2 separate regions of the Homo sapiens genome follow, and region 1 is linked to region 2. The links are contacts of gene promoters, found by promoter capture Hi-C in blood cells and fetal thymus (Javierre and others, 2016). All regions are on one chromosome and are shown on one strand. The core of a region is centred on a gene start or on the middle of the fragment in contact, and the rest is flanking DNA. Distances in the headings are between cores, read along the strand shown. Region 1 has its middle 8.0 kb from the start of HAP1. Region 2 holds the start of NT5C3B (5'-nucleotidase, cytosolic IIIB).

Region 1 (3,650 bases), core at 728-3,227, 93 kb before region 2:
GAAGCTGGGCGACCCTCCCTCTCCCGTACCCAGGGGTGCCTGTGCTCACTGGGTTTGCTTCCACATAATACTACTTATGAGCCAACTGTTAGGTCTTATAAATTAGATGCCCACCGTGGGCATCTGCCCCATGGCCTCTGGAGGAATCCTGCCAGAGGATGGAGATAAAGGAAGGACAAATACCAAGTGCCTTTTGCAGACGCTATGTCCGCTCTTCCTTCTTCAAGCCTCAGCTCAGACGCCACCCAGTCTTGGGAGCCTCCCCTGATCTAACCTGGCTGGATCTGGGTCCCTGCCTCCCAGATCCAATGTGCTTCCCTCTACCTCAGCCTTCCACACACTGGGGCAAAAGCAAGAAGGGCTTCTGTGCCCAGCTTTTAGTATCTGAGCCTGCCTTGGCCCATGCTTGATGGGCTCAGAGGGAAACACTTGTACTCTGACATAAATCCGAAATAACAGAATCATCCTGACTGGTTCCAGTCTTCAAAATAAGAAAGACTGAGTTTTCACCATAAACCTGGACTCCTGGCCGGGCGCGGTGGCTCACACCTGTAATCCAGCACTTTGGGAGGCCAAGGCAGGCAGATTGCTTGAGCCCAGGCGTTTGAGACCGGCCTAGGCAACATGGTGAAACCCTGTCTCTACAAAAATACATAAATTAGATGGACATGATTGTGCACGCCTGTAGTCCCAGCTACTTGCGGGGGCTGAGGCAGGAGGATTGCTTGAGCCCAGGAGGTCAAGGCTGCAGTTAGCCGTCTTCCCGCCACTGCACTCCAGCCTGGATGACAGAGCAAGACCTTGTCATAAATAAATAAACAAAGAAACAAACAAATAAATCTGAACTCCCTAACAAAAAATAAGCCTATTCCTAAAGCTAAGTCATGACCTTTGTGATAAGGTAGTGAAATCGTTGTGGTTCCCATGGCAGAACGGATAATGTCAGGCTTTCCTTTACATCCTTGCCGTGTTTTGTATCTGCCCCGCCAGGCCTTCTGAAAAGGAACCCCCTTTACTCCTCATAAGTAAACGTTCCTCTCCTCTATGTGTCTGTCTCTTTCTTTGACCTGGGCTATAAACACTGATTTCTCACCTGTGGGCCCCACTCAAGGCAGGGGTTGGCAGTCTTCATCTGTGCATTCCAGAGCCTGGTGCAGGCTAGCAAGCTTGAGCGCTCGATAAATACTTACCGGATAACTTAGCAAACTAGGAGAGCAGGCAACACCCTGACCCCAGGCGCTTCCTCAAGGCCCAGCTCTCCCCAAACCCTCCTCCAGGAAGCCCAGAGCATCCTTCACCTTCTCCAACCACATCACGCCCATTGGGCTACAGGAGGGCCTTGGGCTGCCTCGCAGGTGGTCATTGACACTCTCCCGTGTGTAGAGGTCTCAGCTTGACCAAAAGCTACAGCATCAAGAACACAGACAGCTCCTCACATGCTTGTGGTCACCCCACCTGGGCACCTCATACCTAGCAGGGGCTCCAGCAACGTGCGCTGATTCCTTAGTCTGGAGGGCAGGCTGTCATGGTGTAGGTGGGGCAAAGTGGCACCAGGGATGCCCTCAGGGCCTGGCTGGGCCCTTCACTGCTACAAGTGGTCTCCAAAGTGGAAGATGTTCACTGCTGTCCTGACCTCTCAACCTCTCAGCTCTCACTCAACAGTAGACATCACAGAGAGTCTTTGCAGAGGTTTTTTTCTTCTTTTTTTTTTAGATGGAGCCTCACTCTATCGCCCAGGCTGGGGTGCAATGGCATGATCTCTGCTCACTGCAACCTCCGCCTCCCGGGTGCAAGTGATTCTCCTGCCTCAGCCTCCCGAGTAGCTGGGATTACGGGCACACACCACCACGCCCAGCTAATTTTTTGTATTTTTAGTAGAGACGGGGTTTCTTTCTTTCTTTTTTTTTTTTTCTTTTGAGACAGAGTCTTGCTCTGTCACCCAGGCTGGAGTGCAGTGGCGTGATCTTGGCTCACTGCAAGCTCTGCCTCCCAGGTTCATGCCATTCTCTTGCCTCAGTCTCCTGAGTAGCTGGGACTACAGGCGCCCGCCACCACACCTGGCTAATTTTTTTGTATGTTTTAGTAGAGACGGGATTTCACCATGTTAGCCAGGATGGTCTCAATCTCCTGACCTGGTGATCCACGCGCCTTGGCCTCCCAAAGTGCTGGGATTACAGGCGTGAGCCACCATGCCCGGCGTAGAGACGGGGTTTCATCATGTTGACCAGGCTGGTCTCGAACTCCTGACCTCAAGTGATCCGCCCACCTCGGCCTCCCAAAGCGCTGGGATTACAGGCGTAAGCCACCTTGCCGGCCCCTTGGCAGAAATTTTTTTTTCTTTTTTTTTCTTTTTTTGAGACGGAGTTTCGCTTTTGTTGCCCAAACGGGAGTGCGATGGCACGATCTCAGCTCACTGCAACCTCTGTCTCCTGGGTTCAAGCGCTTCTCCTGCCTCAGCCTCCTGAGTAGCTGGGATTACAGGTGCGCGCCATCACGACCAGCTAATTTTTTGTATTTTTAGTAGAAATGGATTTCACCATGTTAACCAGGCTGGTCTCAAACTCCTGACCTCAAGTGATCTGCCCGCCTCGGCCTCCCAAAGTGCTGGGATTACAGTAGGCATGAGCCACCGCGCCTGGCCAGAGATTTTTATAAGACCTCCCTGGCTTTCAGTTTCCCTCATCTGTAAAATGGGGATAACGAATCATAAGTCCTGCTTAGTAAAGACTTCCTATTAAGTGGGATAAGGAAAGTAAGGCACTTAGCAGCCACATAGTACGTGCTTAGCAAAAGCTTCCCCTTTGACTCCCCAGCTGGCTCTTGGAGGGGAAAGGAATCCTCACCCCCTTCTCTCCACAGTGGAGGGCAGAGTGGGCAAAGCCAGGCAGAGGTAGGGCAGGGCCAAGCAGGCAGAGCCTAGAGGTCCCTTCCATTCCAGGGCATCAGAGTGCCATGGCAGACCTAGGAACAGACAGGCAGGAGGAGCCAGGACAGGTTGTGATGGGGATCAGGCATTCTCCACTACCCTCCAATCCTCAGCTCCCTGAGGACCACCTGGAGTTGGGCCTAACAGGAAGCCCAGGGACACACCTGGGCTCAAAGTCCACCTGCCCCCTGCCCTGTAGCTTTAAATCCAGCAGGCAGCTCTGTCCTGCTGCAGTCGGTTTCTCCACATGTGAAATGGGGATAAGACCGCCTATATCACAGGGTTCATTCGAGAACAAATGAGACCACACACACCAAGTTGCACTCCAAGAGCTCCCTCAACAGTGGTGGCTGTTGGCCAGGTGCAGTGGCTCACACCTGGAATCCCAGCACTTTGGGAGGCTGAGGCAGGAGGATCGCTTGAAGCCAGGAGTTCAAGACCAGCCTGGGCAACATAATGAGATCCTGTCTCTATTAAAAAAAACTTTTTTTTTTTTTGAATCAGAGTCTCTCTCTGTCGCCAGGCTGGAGTGCAGTAGCGCGTTCTTGGCTCATTGCAATGCAACCTCCTCCTCCCAGGTTCAAGCAATTCTCCTGCCTCAGCCTCCCGAGTAGCTGGGACTGCAGGTGCACACCACCGCGCCCAGCTAATTTTTGTATTTTTAGTAGAGGCAGGATTTCACCATGTTGGCTAGGATGGTCTCAATCTCTTGACCTCGTGATCA
Region 2 (3,684 bases), core at 1-2,500:
CTCTATACTGGAATCTTTGGTTCCAATCAGGAACCATTTGAAGTAGCAAATGACAACCATTTCTGAGCAAAGGACGGGAGCAACCCACCTCTTTCCGACACTCCTCACTGATGATCTTGCTATTATCCAGAATATCTGGAAAAAGAGAAAACTCCTTTTACTTGTCCCTTAGAACCCATCGTCTTGTCAAGCTCAACAAGGGAAGCTAGAATGTGACTTACTGTAAGAAGAAGGGCATCGCTTTCCATTATATGCAAACCTGCTCAAGGTCATGTCAAAATCAGAAATCACCTATAAGGCAAAAGAGAGATGATGCCTAAATAGGCACCAGAATTCTAGTGTGGCCCTGCCTCAGCCTGGGGGATGATTATGGAAATCAATACAGCTCAGTGGCCAGGATGTAGGCAAAGCCCTAGGGGAGTTACCGAGTGACACAGAGGGATAGAGGGGAAGTGATCCTAATTAGTACCCGTTAACCCTGAGGAAAACGCAGTCTCCTAGTGTGGGGGCAAGGGTGAATACTCAGGACCCCTCTGACTCCTTCAATATCAGGTCCCTCCTAAGAGATCTCTACCATTACGGCCCATCTGGACATCTTCAACTTACTGGGGAGCCGCTGGCTTGGGGAGGATAAGGCCCTAGGTACTGGTGTGGGCGCCTTCTGTCCAATTAGAGGAAGCAGCATGACCATATTGAGAAATCTGAAATTTGGGTTTTAGGACAGGCGAACCAACCCGCTCTCCTTCAAGCTCCCGGCCATTTCTTGGGGCAGAGAGCTAGGAGGGGTCCGCGGCAGAGCAAAGCGGGAAGGCCCAATGGGCAGGAAGCCTCTCCAGCCGCCCCCAGCCCGGCCGGCCCCCGCACGCCCCAGAGGTACCTGTAACCGGTCTCCGCCGCCCTTGCGGAGGGCGCCCACGATCTCCTGCACCCGCCCAGGCTGCCGCATCAGGACCGTGGCCTTCATCAGGGTGCTCACCTGTCCCGAGACCCGAGAGAACCACTGACCCCTGCGCCACGCTGGGCCCGAGGGGAGCCCGGGGCTCGCTCGGGCGCGCGTGTGAGGCGGGGCCGGGGTGCGCGAGGGGGCGGCTACTGGCCTGGGTGAAGCGGCGGTGCCTCGGTGACCAGCTGGGGGGCTCGAAGCGCCCCGGGGGTCGGAGTCCGGGCCCGCCCCACTCCGGACGCTTCCTCCCTCCTCACCTCCTCTGCCATCCCGTTCGAGGCCTGGTCGGCGGCTCGCGGGACAACGACAGCCCCGCGACCGCACTGCGCAGGCGTCGCCTCCCGCCTGGAGCCCGGGCGGGGGTTGGTGGGGCCGGGGGCGGGGCGGGGGTGGGGCCGAGAATCGAGCGGTCCCGGAGATGGCCGCGATCCGGGTGGGCTTGCCGGTTGCGCTAGGCAAACTGGAGGAGGGTTCTATTTATTATGAAGAGCAGGGTGAAGGTCCCAAGGTGTTGGGGTTACGTGGGTAGGTAGGGTTCTGCCACTCTTTGTGGAGGAAAAGCCTTGCCAAACGTGGTCATTTCCAGGCTGAAAGTTTGTGACAAAAACATGACTGGGGCTGGGCGCGGTGGCCCATACCTGTAATCCCAGGACTTTGGGAGGCCGAGGCAGGATGATCGCTTGAGCCGAAGAGTTCGAGACCAGCCTGGGCAATATGACGAAACCCTGTCTCTACAAAAAATACAAAAATTAGCCGGGCATGGTGACACGCACCTGTTGTAGTCCCAGCTACTCGGGAGGCTGAGGCACGAGGATCACTTGAGCCCGGGAGATCCAGGCTCCAGTAGGCCGAGATCATACCACTGCACTCCACCCTGGGTGACAGATGACACCCTGTCTCAGAAACAAAAACAGAAAAACCACACGGCTGGATGGGAGGAGAGATGAAGGAGCCATAAACTGAATTCTGTTAATCACCCAGAAAGGGCTCTGTTAACTAGGCCATTCCTCATTCCAGAAGAAACTGAGTGACTAACCCATCCAGCGGGCTGGGAGACCCGGGACAGCTTTCTGAAATGTAATCAGCGTTGGCTGGGCACGGTGCGGAGCACTTGTAATCCCAGCTATTCAGGAGGCTGAGGTGGGAGGATCACTTAAGCCCAGGAGGTCGAGGCTGTAGTGAGTTATGATCACACCACTGCACTCCAGCCTGGGTGAGAGAGCGAGACCCGTCCCTAGAAAAAGAAAGATTTTTTTTTTGAGATGGAGTCTCACTCTGTCGCCAGGCTGGAGTGCAGTGGAGCGATCTCGGCTCACTACAACCTCCATCTCCTGGGTTGAAGCGATTCTCCTGCCTCAGCCTCCCAAGTAGCTGGGACTACAGGCATGTGCCACCACGCCCAGCTAATTTTTGTATTTTTAGTAGAGACGAGGTTTCACCATGTTGGCCAGGATGGCCTTGATCTCTTGACCTTGTGATCCATCCACCTCGTGCTGGGATTACAGGTGTGAGCCACTGCGCCCGGCCTAAGAAAGAAATTTAATCAGTTTTACTTCTCCCTTCAGCCTCAATTGACTTGGATTTCCTTGAGTTCGGTGTCTAGGGAGCCAAGTGTTGGGCTGTGGAAGGTAGATGAATGCTCCAGGGATAGAGACCTGTATCAGGTGAGTAACAGGAGCTGGAATCAATAAACACTCAGATGGTGCTAGTGGTCATGGTTCTGTTTTGGGTTCAAGGACACAGAAGGAGGTGTGAGGTGGTTTTCAGCCTAAGTGGGGTGGTAAGGAGGGGAGAAGGAAGAGGACAAGTCCAGGAGGCAGTTCCAGAACCTGAGAGCACAATCCTGTGTGATCTCACTGCAGGGCCAGGATTCTGGAACTTGGGTTGCCTGATAGACCCTATACAAAAGATGTAGTAGGGAAAAGGAGCGACAGCTGGCTAAAGGGGCCCCCCACAACCCTCCCCGACACCCTAGGAAAGCAGCCTCTCTCCGCTGTCCCAGGGTGCCATGGAGATGGAGAGCGCGGCGGCCTCCACACGTTTCCACCAGCCTCACATGGAGAGGAAGATGAGTGCGATGGCCTGTGAGATCTTCAACGAGCTTAGACTAGAGGGCAAGCTCTGCGACGTGGTCATCAAGGTCAATGGCTTTGAGTTCAGTGCCCATAAGAACATCCTCTGTAGCTGCAGTTCCTACTTTAGGTATAACAGGGTTGCCAAATTCAGCCAAAGGGGTAATTGGGCTCATTTTGAGACACTTTGATCCATTTTCTGTTTCCCACCCCATCACCTTAACTTTAGGGACACTGTCAAAGCTCTGGGCTCCTTAAAAATTAAAAAAAAATTTTTTTTTTAGAGATAAGCTCTCATTCTTTCACCCAGGCTGGAGTGTAGTGATGCAATCATAGCTCACTGCAGCCTTCAACTGCTGGGCTCAAACAATCCACCTACTCCAGCCTCCCAAGTAGCTAGGTCTACAGGCACATGCTGCTACGTCCGGCTACTTTTGAAATGTTCTGTAGAGAGGGAGTCTCGCTATGTTGCCCAGGCTGGTCTTGAACTCCTGGCCCAAAGCGATCCTCCTGCCTCAGTCTCCCAAAGTGCTGGGATTACCACTGTGCCTGGCCAACTCTGGTCCAGGCAGGAGCTCCTGCCTGGCTCCTTTGCCTTCTGAAGAGGCATGACTAGGGTCAGGGCCTTTTTTCTCTCTTTTTTTTTTTTGTTTGTTTTGTTTTTTTTTT

The links. The method cuts DNA at HindIII sites, captures the fragments that hold promoters and counts their contacts. A CHiCAGO score of 5 or more calls a contact.
Region 1: a fragment that was not itself captured here is called in contact with the fragment with the promoter of NT5C3B in region 2 in 1 of 17 cell types (M1 macrophages); the score reaches 5.0 in M1 macrophages.

The regions. Positions count from the first base shown.
Region 1 is chr17:41,740,827-41,744,476 of GRCh38, forward strand. No RefSeq gene overlaps it. Among named protein-coding and RNA genes, the nearest start is that of HAP1, 8.0 kb to the left of the region's middle. The HindIII fragment of the contact is 1,627 bases long and covers 1,165-2,791 here.
Region 2 is chr17:41,834,982-41,838,665 of GRCh38, forward strand. It overlaps NT5C3B (5'-nucleotidase, cytosolic IIIB), which reads right to left and starts at 1,251. Exons shown (of 9, transcript NM_052935.5): 1 at 1,201-1,251; 2 at 878-976; 3 at 222-291; 4 at 89-135. The coding sequence starts at 1,212. KLHL10 (kelch like family member 10) reads left to right here and starts at 2,844. Exons shown (of 5, transcript NM_152467.5): 1 at 2,844-3,145. The coding sequence starts at 2,952. RefSeq lists silencers at 735-844, 975-1,354 and an enhancer at 1,775-1,854. The HindIII fragment of the contact is 15,142 bases long and covers 1-3,684 here.